2 separate regions of the Homo sapiens genome follow, and region 2 is linked to region 1. The links are contacts of gene promoters, found by promoter capture Hi-C in blood cells and fetal thymus (Javierre and others, 2016). All regions are on one chromosome and are shown on one strand. Each heading gives the region's core, a stretch centred on a gene start or on the middle of the fragment in contact. The rest is flanking DNA. Distances are from core to core; before and after follow the strand shown. Region 1 holds the start of CYP2R1 (cytochrome P450 family 2 subfamily R member 1). Region 2 overlaps RRAS2 (RAS related 2).

Evidence for each region. Contacts are between HindIII fragments. The CHiCAGO score rates a contact against its expected background, and 5 or more counts as called.
Region 2: a contact is called between a fragment that was not itself captured here and the fragment with the promoter of CYP2R1 in region 1, in 1 of 17 cell types (fetal thymus). The highest score is 5.8, in fetal thymus.

The regions. Positions count from the first base shown.
Region 1 is chr11:14,890,914-14,896,550 of GRCh38, reverse strand. It overlaps CYP2R1 (cytochrome P450 family 2 subfamily R member 1), which reads left to right and starts at 4,320. Exons shown (of 5, transcript NM_024514.5): 1 at 4,320-4,570. The coding sequence starts at 4,346. It also overlaps a transcript of PDE3B not described here. RefSeq lists a silencer at 4,573-4,812. The HindIII fragment of the contact is 6,013 bases long and covers 1-4,356 here.
Region 2 is chr11:14,344,311-14,350,038 of GRCh38, reverse strand. All of the region lies in intron 1 of RRAS2 (RAS related 2), which reads left to right. Among named protein-coding and RNA genes, the nearest start is that of RRAS2, 12 kb to the left of the region's middle. The HindIII fragment of the contact is 4,460 bases long and covers 1-4,022 here.

The sequences.
Region 1 (5,637 bases), core at 3,071-5,570:
AAAACAAAAATGTTTGGCATCTTGAAAACATAGTAATGTTTGAAAATATAAATAATAAATTTACTTGTGATTATTTGACTGGTGTTGGCATCCCCCAATAGAATGTAAACCCCAGGAACACAGGGACCATGGCTGATTTTGCTCACCATTATATTCCCAGCATCTAATCTAGTAGGTGCCCAATACATTTGTGGTGAATGACTGAAAGAACACATGGCAAGTCCAGAGCCCAGAATTCTGGTTCTACTGGTGCTATCTTGTGTGACTTGGATAGAACACTAAACTTCCTCTGACTCTCTGTTACTGCATTTGGAAGAGGGTCTTCAACAAGATCATGAAGTGTTCATGCATTTCTATTTTTTTGAAACACAAGGAAAGGAATACAAGATATCATGACAGAAGATGGCCCAGTGGGTAGCTGGATGGGAGGAAGTGGCAAGGATTGGTTGGCTGAGTATCCCTAGGAAATGGCAGGAATAACTCCTGCTTCTGAGAAATGTGATTTCTCTAAGTTGATCTAGCCTTTGGAAAAATTGTGAAGGGAAAGAAGTTTCTCTGTAAAACTTCCTTTCCCCTTCTGCATCCTCTTCTGAAACCCCCACACCCACCACCATCATCATCATCACCATGCCACCACCTCCAATAAATCCATGTCATCATGTCCCTCATTCGGCCTTGCCTGTAAATGTGGGATTAAATTCATTCATGTATAAGCGTTTTTAGAACTTCCTATTGCTGTACTCTCCTGCCACCAGGTTTTGCATTTTCCAACTTAGCCTGTTATAGGGAATGTTCAATTAGTATCATTTAATTTGTAAAGACTGAACTTCAGGCAGTGGGGTGAGGAGGACTTTTTAAAGTGGTCACAGGGAGACTTTCATAAGGTTCCTAATCTCACCCAGAAGTGCTACTGGTCTGCCAGCCCCACCTCAGTGCCTGGCTCCTAAGAGCACAATGAAAATCCAAGTGCACGAATTCAGTTTCTACACATCATTTTGTAATCAAAGTCTTCATTTGGGTACCCTACCTCCCAGCATGAGGACTAGGATAAGGCAAGTGAGAAATTCACCTTGGGAACAGAATTTAAGAGGGCTCCAAGAAGATCAAAAGCAAGATAACACTTTAATGCAACAGTTTAAAATCAAAATTGAGGCAAAAACCCATTACGAACAAGACATCAAATTTTTAATAAGGCAGGATCACTATTATTGACTTTTTTCTTTTAGCTCAGCCTCCAGTATGGCTCAGCTTGGCACTTCCTTTGGCTCTCACTTCCTTCAATTCTGATGAAACACACTGAGAATGCACATAATGGAACATGCAAAGGAGGCACATTTGCGCTGATTGCATCACTCTGTGTGGGGAGCTCTCTGGGACAACTCCCACGGCCCAGGCCAGGGCTGCAGCCATTCAAGAACAGAAAGGGACCCCAGGAGAATCTCACTTGATACTGCCCCTCAGGATGAGCCCTGGAGCTTGGGTTCAGTTCCCAAAGGCCCAGAAAGAGGCTCTGATTCTGGCACAGCATTGCTGTTCTCTGTTAGAACCATTACTGTTCTGCACATAGAAATGGCAAAGCCCTATACAGTGTGTTCACCCATTCCACCCCGAGTACTGAAGATGAGATCTCAGCCATGAAACAGTGAAATACTTAACTTCCTGCTGCCCTAAACCTTCCTGTCATGATAAAAGCCATAGACAAACATTATTGATTGTTTTCTATCACTCAAAGAGCAAATGCAAGAAGGGGGAATAAGGGAGGGATTTCTCCTTATTGAGCTGAGGGAACATGATAAACTGTTACAGGGAAGGCTCTATGTCCTGAAAGACTTATAGTTATTCCTGAGAATACCCCACCTATTATCTCTCAAGGGGAGCTGTGGTGGGGTGGGGTGGGGAACATTTCATCAGTGCTGTCAGTCAGAAATGGCTGCCTCGGGGTAACTCAGCTCTCCTCTGCTATGTAGCCAGGGAAAGAATGCCAAAGAAGGAATGCTCCTTAATTTAAGTGAATTGGAGGATATTTTTGTAATGAAAATTAATCCTTTCTGAAAATAAATGATGGCAGGGGGCCCACTCCTGAACCAAGTACCTGTACTGTATAACAGCTGTGGCCAGACCAAAAACTGTAAGCCTCCTGGTGTTGCAAAGGCAGGGTTGATCTCAGGCATCCCATAGGTGATATTCCTCAGCTCCTGGTGCCTCAGCAGCATTGCCTCCCACCCACAGTCCCAATATCCATCCTGTGTCATCTCCACTGGCCTTTGGTAAGAAACTAGAGACCAAATTTAGTAATGATCTCTCACAATTATTTTTTCATTTTATTAGATTATTGATTAATAAGAATTTTAAGGTATCTCTTAATAGGCATTTGTAATAGGCAGTAGGTAGATATTCTGTGGCTGCAGATACTGTGACACATACCTGTGGGGGTAACTTCAGCCCCTGGGGATAGTCACAAGCCAGTTAAACAGAAAAACTCAAAGACCTGACTAACTTGCTGACTTCCGCAGTGTCCTTGCGTGGGAGATGGAGAGAAATTGGAAACACTCTCAGAGGACAAGGTTTGCTTAGTATATGAAGCCTTTGCCCTTGATATTTCCTCTGTTTGGAATATTTTCCCCCATATCTGCCTCAAATTTCTCTTCTATAGTAGGCAGAATAATGCTCCCCTCCCCCAATAGGTCCACATACTAATCCCTAGAACTGTGAATATGTTAGGTTTCATGGCAAGAAGAATTAAGGTTGCAGATGGAATTAAAGGGCTAATCAGCTGATCTTTGAGTTGGGATTATCCAGGTGGGCCCAATATAATCACAACGATCCTTATAAGTGGAAGAAGGAAGTAGAAGAGAGATAATCAGAGAGACAGCGATGTTGGAAGGATTCAAACTGACATTAATGGCCTTGAAGAGGAAGGAATGGGGACGAAAGCCAAGGAATGTGGGCAGCCTCTAGAAGCTGAAAAAGACAAGGAAATAGAATCTCTCCTACAGTCTCTAGAAAGAATGAAGCCCCACTAACACCTCTCTGTCAGCCCTGGAAGACTCATTTTGGACTTCTCACCTCAAGAATTGTAAGAAAATAAATTTGTGTGGTTTTAAGCCATCAGATTGGTGGTAATTTATTACAACAGTAGTAGGAAACAAATACACTTCTTTAGCAGTTGATCTCAGCTCCAATGTCATCTTCCTAATAAGACTTTCCTTGACAGCCCTTGCCTGCTAAAGTATCTCCCCAACCACCAGGCGTTTTCTATAACGCACTTTTTGTTTGCTTCTGATTATTGAAAATTATTGTATTTCCATGTCATTGCTCTTCCCTCTCATAAGAATGTAAGTTATAGAAAGGACTTTGTTGCTCTTATTCACCTATGTATCTCCATTGCTTAGGACATGGGAACATAGTAGACATTCAATAAATATTTGTTGTGTGAATGAGTCGTAAGCTAATGAGGACCATAAAACTCATGCCACTGCTAAATCACAATTAGAGGGCAGCTGTTAGAAGAGTCCCAAACCCAGTAAGTCCTGTATTGCAAGGAACTGCCCAATAGAAAACAGGAATAAAAACAATTAGCAAGAATAATATGAAATCAGTTGCTTAATTCCAGGCAGTGGAGGCAGAAATCTTGAATAGTAAATACTCTCCGTGAACAAGTGCAGACAAGAGTCCCGTGATTGCCAATAAGTAATCAGTTTGGAAAGACCAGAGAGGGGTCAAATATAGGTAAACTGAGTTAATCACATAAACTGCTCAATCATCACAATTATTAAAAGATCACACACAAAAATACATTAACAGGAGAAAAATAGTAAAACAGGACAAAACAGTAAAATTACTTTCTTTTACTACTGATGGGTCAATTTTCTACTGGAAATTCTGAAAAGTATCAGGTTCAGCTAAAGACTGCAGTGTTGATCATCTCTCCAGTTTTCCTAGTGTGAAATGAAATAAGCAGACCTGGTACTTAAAAAGACACTTTAAGAAAGGTCTGGCCCCAGAGAGGCAGGATCCGCCTAGCCCAGTGAGTGAGGCCGTCCTGACACCTCGTCAATGCCCTTGTGTCAACATTCTAGAAAACGGACTCCTGGCTCATTGCTCCGCCTAGAGCCGCGCCACCTCCAAAGGGTAGCACCGGCCACCCGCTCCGCAAAGTCCACTCTCAGCCGCGCAAAACTAGAAGGTAGTTGTCCCGAAGGGGCCTGAGCGCTCACTCAGTCAGCCAATGGCCACGGAGCTAGGGCGGGACCTGAGGGTATCCTGCCAATGGGAGTATGGCAGGGCTGGAGGGAGTGCCTGGGTCTCAGGGCTGCTGTGGAGTTCGCACCTCCAGCTCGGGCCGATGTGGAAGCTTTGGAGAGCTGAAGAGGGCGCGGCGGCGCTCGGCGGCGCGCTCTTCCTGCTGCTCTTCGCGCTAGGGGTCCGCCAGCTGCTGAAGCAGAGGCGGCCGATGGGCTTCCCCCCGGGGCCGCCGGGGCTGCCATTTATCGGCAACATCTATTCCCTGGCAGCCTCATCCGAGCTTCCCCATGTCTACATGAGAAAGCAGAGCCAGGTGTACGGAGAGGTACAGCCCCGACGGGCCCCGGGCAGGGAGGGCCGCCAGGCTGGCCCGGGCTGGCCAGGGCCTTCCTGGTTGGACTTATGGCCGCCCCTGGGCCGACTAGTCGGGACCTCTCCGTGTGCCGGCTGCCCTTTGAGGGACACCCGCTTCCCGGGTCTGGAAGGGAGAAGTCCTCGACGCCGTGCCCCCTTGCAGGGGGAGCCCCGCCCCTGCCGGTGACCCACTCCGGGCCGAGGCTCCGAGGCGATCCAGTCCTGATTTTCCCGCTACCGCTCGAGCTCTTGCTCCTGCGCCTGCGCCGTTTGGCTCGCCAGCCGCGCCGCCACTTCAGGTCCAGGGTGGACGCATGCCCTCAGGTGCGGGCGTCTTGCGAGTCGGCCTCGCAGCTCTGTGGAAGCTGCACGCGGCTTGTCGGAAAATCAAGGCGTTCTGAGTTCTAGATGGTTAATAGCAGGTTCTTCGGTGTCTGCAGTCGACGAACGACTGGTGTAGGCGTTTGCTGTGAGAATGGAGAATGCAGGGGAACGCCCCTGACTGAGAAGCGGGCCCTGGGAAACGATTGTGAACGCGTGAATGAATTGATGACTAAAATCCGCTGCGGGGGTCCTACAGCGCAGATGGTAATGCCGTTCTGACTGGCTGGGAACGGCACCTTAGCAGATACTTAAAAGGCGCCTTCTGTGTGCCACTGTCACTGCCAACTTGGTGACTCATTTAAAACTCATAACCAGCCGGTGAGGTCGGTACTTCGCTCCTCCTCATTCTGCGGAGGGGAAAGCAGCACGGAAATGCCCTGTGACTGGCAGCGGAAAAGGCGACCACCGCTTGTGTGTGGGTGTCCCGACGTCCGGAGGGGGCAGGAGTTTCCACGGGTCCTGGGACAGAGCTCACCTGTTTTGTTTTGAATTACACTTATTTATATGCAACTACAGGCCTGACGCTAGCGGTGAAGAAGGCAGATACAGCCTTTTAAGGAGTTGGCAGATGAGTGGGAGAGAGAAAACTAATCTCATTATCGGCCACAGGCTGTGGTCAGTGTTTTGAAGGAAAAGTACAGGGATGTTTGGCAA
Region 2 (5,728 bases), core at 543-3,042, 540 kb after region 1:
TGGGTAAAAAGGTATATGGTGGAAAGGATAGAGGGAATGGGGGCAGGGACCCTTCTGAGGATACCTTTCTGACTTTTGAAACCATGTTAATGTTTCACATACTGAGTATATAAGCAGCAAACACACCAACCAAATCAACTGATGACAAATAAAAACACCTTAACAGGGAGTACAAATAGAAACAAATGAACTGAACCGTATTTCAAATGAGTAACTTAACTACACTGAAGGAGTGAAAAACAACTAATTTAGGTAACTTTTGATCCTAGTATTTGAACTCTGTCCTCAGGATAAAGACAAAAAGATTGAAAGAAACATTGAACTCTAGTTAATAGAGTTAACTAGAATTTTTGGTTTTTGTTGTTGTCATAAAGGCATGGGTTTGCAATTTTGAAGCAATTGTCTATACTGTTATAAGCAAATAAGTAAATATATTGTGGAAAATGGGAGCCAGTTTCTCACTGTTGGAGAAGGGAGTTACAAAGGTGAAAAATGTGAAGGTTAAAATGAACTCTGATGTTTGATTGGAATTGCAGATAGTGGCATAAATTCATAGTTTTAGAAGTATGTAGATATAGGCCGGGTGTGGTGGCTGACACCTGTAATCCCAGCACTTTGGGAGGCTGAGGCGGGTGTATCACGAGGTCAGCAGATCGAGACCATCCTGGCTAACACAGTGAAACCCCCCTCTTTACTAAAAATACAAAAAAAAAAAAAAAATTAGCCGGGTGTGGTGGCGGGTGCCTATAGTCCTAGCTACTCAGAAGGCTGAGGCAGGAGAATGGTGTGAACCTGGGAGGTGGAGGTTGCAGTGAGCCAAGTCGCGCCACTGCAGTCCAGCTTGGGTGACAGAGCAAGACTCTGTCTCTAAAAAAAATAATAAAAATAAAAAATGAATACAAAAAATTAGCCGGGCGTGGTCGCGGGTGCCTATAGTCCCAGCTACTTGGGAGGCTGAGGCAGGAGAATGGCGTGAACCTGGGAGGCGGAGCTTGCAGTGAGCCGAGATCGCGCCACTGCACTCCAGCCTGGGCAACAGAGCGAGACTCTATCTCAAAAACAAGAAACAAAAAAAGAAGTATGTAGATATAGAAATAGATCTCATTATGGATACACATGCGTACATCTGTACATCTTTTTCCACTTCTGTCTGCTAAGATGGCCAGGAAGCAGTGATACCCCTTTAGCAATGAGATCACCTAGCACTAGATCTTGGTTTCTAAATACCATTAATACTATTCTCTACTGGAAGGAACCTTAGAGAAATGGAGGATTCCAGAATAGGGGAAGGAAAAAATACAAAATATGCTTGGAGCATCTTGTAGTCTCATAAGGGAGTGCTCAAAAAGGTAAAATGATGGGGATATTTGAAAGAGACACAGGAGCCAGCCTGGCAAAACTCCCATTGACTGACTATAGGGCAATTTAATCATTGAAATAAATAAGGCAGTACTTGTTTATTACCCATAAATAGAGTAAGGATCTATGATAAATAAATGATCTAGAAGTCCTTAATGTAGAATTCTGACTAATGAATGAACATAAAGGAAAAGGTGGAATTAGTAAGTTGCCTTTTGGCAATTATAACAGTTGATTTAAGTAAGAACCATAAATGGATCTTAAAACTAAGTGGGTAAAAATGGATGTTAAAACTAGTATGTGAAAGTTTGAGAGTAGTAGATGTTAATATAGTCTCAAAGTATGTTCTCATAAGTTATTGTTAATTTTACAGGGGGAAAATAACAACTTTACAGGGGGAAATCTGACACCAACTTGCCCATGTGATGAAAGTCAACATCTTTGATGTTACTCTACATAATAATAATGAGCAGAGTTTGTTTTACTTTGTTATGCTAATGAGATCTTGTCTTTATAATTTGTTCAGCGAGGCATTGAATGAAATTAAGCCTAAAGGAACCAAGCAGAGCATAAAGGGGACCAGGTTTTTTTCTGTTTAAAAAATATATCTTCTTAATTTTGTAGCCAGATGTCTTGGGAGGGAAAGGTTGATAAATTTAGGTTAGGCCAGTAAGGTTTTGTCCATAAACTCTAATCTTTATTTAGCATAATAACTTCCTCCCTTTGCACCAAGTGTGTCTTTTGCTGTACAACTGTTTTTGTTTTTTTCTGTGTTCTGTGGTGGTTTTTGGAAAGTAGATTTTTTTTTTTCTACTGGAATTTATCTTAAAAATTATTTATATTCTTTTAAAAATTTTAAAGACAGGGTCTTGCTCTGGTGCCCAGGTCAGGCTGTAGTGTAGTGGTGTGATGACAGGTCACTGCACCCTCGGAACTCCTGGGCTGAAATGATCTTCCTGCCTCTGCCTGCCAAAGCGCGGGCACTACAGGTGTGAGCCACTGTACCTAAGTTTTTGATTTTTTGTAGCGACGAGGTCTCGCTATGTTGCCCAGGCTGGTCTTGAACTTCTGGCCTCAAGTGATCCTCCTGTCTTGGCCTCCCAAAGCGCTGGGATTACAGGTGTGAGCCATCTGTCCCTGTATAAAATGATTTATATTTTTAAACATACATAATTAGGGAATCAGAAAATAGTGTCTTATTCCCAGTTACAGAAAATGAGAATTAAGCACTTTTGTTAACCCTGTTTCTACCCACTCCTTTCGTACATTTTTTGTCCTTATTTACAACAACCAAAATTGTGTCAGATTCAGTATTTTTAAAAGATTTCAAAAATCTTCTGCATTCTGTTTTGTTATTACAATTACAATAGTTAATACCCATTGGCATTAATCCGTTTGTCATTAAGGGTTATTGCTTTTATTTGCCATTTCTATCATTCTACCTGGTTTTAGTGTTTACAAACAATCCTCATGAACAGCTAGTTTTAATTAATTATTTTTAAAATTGTCTTTATTTAGAGACAGGGTCTTGCTCTGTTGTCCAAGCGGGAGTGCAGTGGCATGATCATAGCTTACTGCAACATTGAAACTCCTAGGCTTTAGTAACCCTCCTCCTGTCTTAGCCCTCTGAGTAGCTAGGACTACAGGCATATGCCACCATGCCCGTCTAACTTTTTTATTTTTATTTTTTAGAGATGGGGTCTCATTTTGTTGCCCAAGCTAGTCTTAAACTCCTGGCCTCAAGCAATCCTCCCACCTTGGCCTCCCACAGGGCTGGTATTATAGGCGTGAACCACTGTGCCTGGCCTTTTTATTTTTAAATTGACAGATAAAATTGTATGTATTTATTATGTACAACAGGGTGTTTTGAAGTATATATACATTGTGGAATGACTAAATATAGCTAACATACGTACTATGTCACATAGTTGTCATTTTTGTGGTGAGAACATGTAACATCCACTCAGCTTTTTACAAGAGTACAATATATTGTTATTAACTATAGTTACTATGCTTTACAGCTACTTTTTATTTTGAATTGTGATTTAAAGAACATTTCCAAGTACTTTTTACTGAAAACATATCTAAGATTAAATTTACTTTTGCATGATAAATGATGATTTGGCTGGGTATAAAATTATTGGGTCCCAACATTTTTGTGTTATAACAGTAGAGGTCCTGCTTTATTTGTTATCTTTGTCTGGCCTCAAGTTTCTGTAGAAATAACTTCACTAGGTGTATGCTTGCAGCATTCTCTTATCATTGGAAATGGACACATTTATCAGGATATGACTAGAAGTTTTTCTCTGTCACTAGTATTCTCAGGGAAATGATGAAACACTCTCAGGTCTGGGAAGACTTCTCCATTTTTGTATTCATTTTTTTCAGTTATCTTCTTAAGTACCTATTATTTACACATTGATTTTCTGTAACTTTATAGTACATTGTTTTAAGTTAGCTAATGAAAAGGATAAGATCCTCTCTATTCTAGGAAGATTTATCAAATTTGTCTTCTCCATCCTTGATGAAATTTTCTGGATGTCACACATAATTACTGTCTCCAAAACATATTTAGTGCCCTTGATTTCTCGGTCTGATATTAAACAACGGTAATGTTCTCTTGTCTTTTCAGAAGGCCACAAAACTGGTATTTTTGTAAAGCTTGATACTATTTAATGAAACAACTTACAGGGAAGTGATTTTTCTTTGTGTGGAAGAATATATTTGTTTTTCTTGTTTATTCATGAAGAGTTGCTCATAGCTATTTTTGGTTTAGGAAGTTAAGAGCTGGTCATCTCTCAGAATTGCCTTGGGGTACTGAGATTTCTGCTTTGTTTTGGTGCTAAACAGCAAGTTGACGTTGGAGAGCTTCAGTTTCTTGGAGATTATCAGTAGCAGAATTTCAACAAATACAAAATTTTACTACACCCTCTAAATCTTAATCTCCAAATATGGGCTTTTGGCTGAGAGGTATACTTTTGTAGAATTAGAGATGTTTAAAAGGGATAGTTTTCAAGTTTTTAAATCCTTCATACCACAGCTTTCTGCAGTGAGGCAAGTGGAAGAGTGTGTGTATTCTTAAAAGAAGGTTATGGATTAGAAAACGATCCCTTTTTCCTTCTTTTGTTCTTCTGTAGCTCAGACCTTGAACAACGATCTGTGTCTGGTTCACCTTGACATTATCTTAAACCCTGTAAGCACTAGACTATAAGTATTTTAGTAGAGGACTTTATATATTTGGTGTGCTTTGTCTGTATCTATGTCTCTTAGTTATATTTGTACATTTTATTCATATTTGCATTTTCAGAATCGTAGACTAGGAATACCTTTGTTACACAGAACTAAGCACAACAAAATATTTGTTGCTATTTGCTAGTATCAAGTTTTGAGTGGAGGCCAGGTGCGGTGGCTCACTCCTGTAATCCCAGCACTTTGGGAGGCTGAGTAGGGCAGATCACTTGAGGTCAGGAGTTCCAGACCAGCCTGGCTGACATGGTGAAACCTCGTCTCTACTAAAAATACAAAATTAGCTGGGCATAGTGACACGCGCCAATAATCCCAGCTACTTGAGAAGCTAAGGCAGAAGAATCTCTTGAACCCAGGAGTGGAGGTTGCAGTGAGCTGAGATCACACCACTGCACTCCAGTCTGGGTGACAGAGTGAGACTGTCTCAAAAAAAAAAAAAAAAAAAATAAAGTCTTGAGTAGGGCACAGGAAATAAATAGTGGAAAAAAGAGGCTTTTGGAAAGATGAGTTGTATCTATTATGGTTCCATAGCATCTAGTTACTGAAGAAGAGAAAGAGCTGGCTATCATTTTGGATTTCAGAAATCATGTGTGGCATATACACGTTGAATCTTGAGTTTTAGAAGTTGATCCGTAGCATTCGGTTTTAGCCAAAATAGTCTTTGGAGAAGATAGTCCTTTCTTAATTTCTGTCTGGCAATTCTGACTTGGGAAGTATACAACAGTCTGAGAGTAAGGTCTTAAAAGTTGTAACTTTTGTTTTATTTCCTGATGAATTTTCTCTTAATGCCTGTTTTTGGTTAATGACGATGTGGTTGACGTTTCAGTAGTCAAAAGATGCGAGCTGAAAGGAAAGCTAAGCAGGTAGTCAAGTCAAACTGCAGAGGAAGATTTGTGGTAGATTTAATGTTTAAGTTTCAGAAATCACATGGAAAAGATATGTGGCTATTAAATTTGTAATTTTGTCCTTTTTGCCTCTAAAATTAAGGTGTGTCAACTAAGGGAAATTTGCCCCATGCAAGTAGGCTTGTGTGCAGGTACACAGAGGCATACATTTTACTTGAGGAAGGAGTGAATTTAAGGTTAGAGAGAGGTTTGTGGGTTTTTGGAATAAAAAAGTGGAA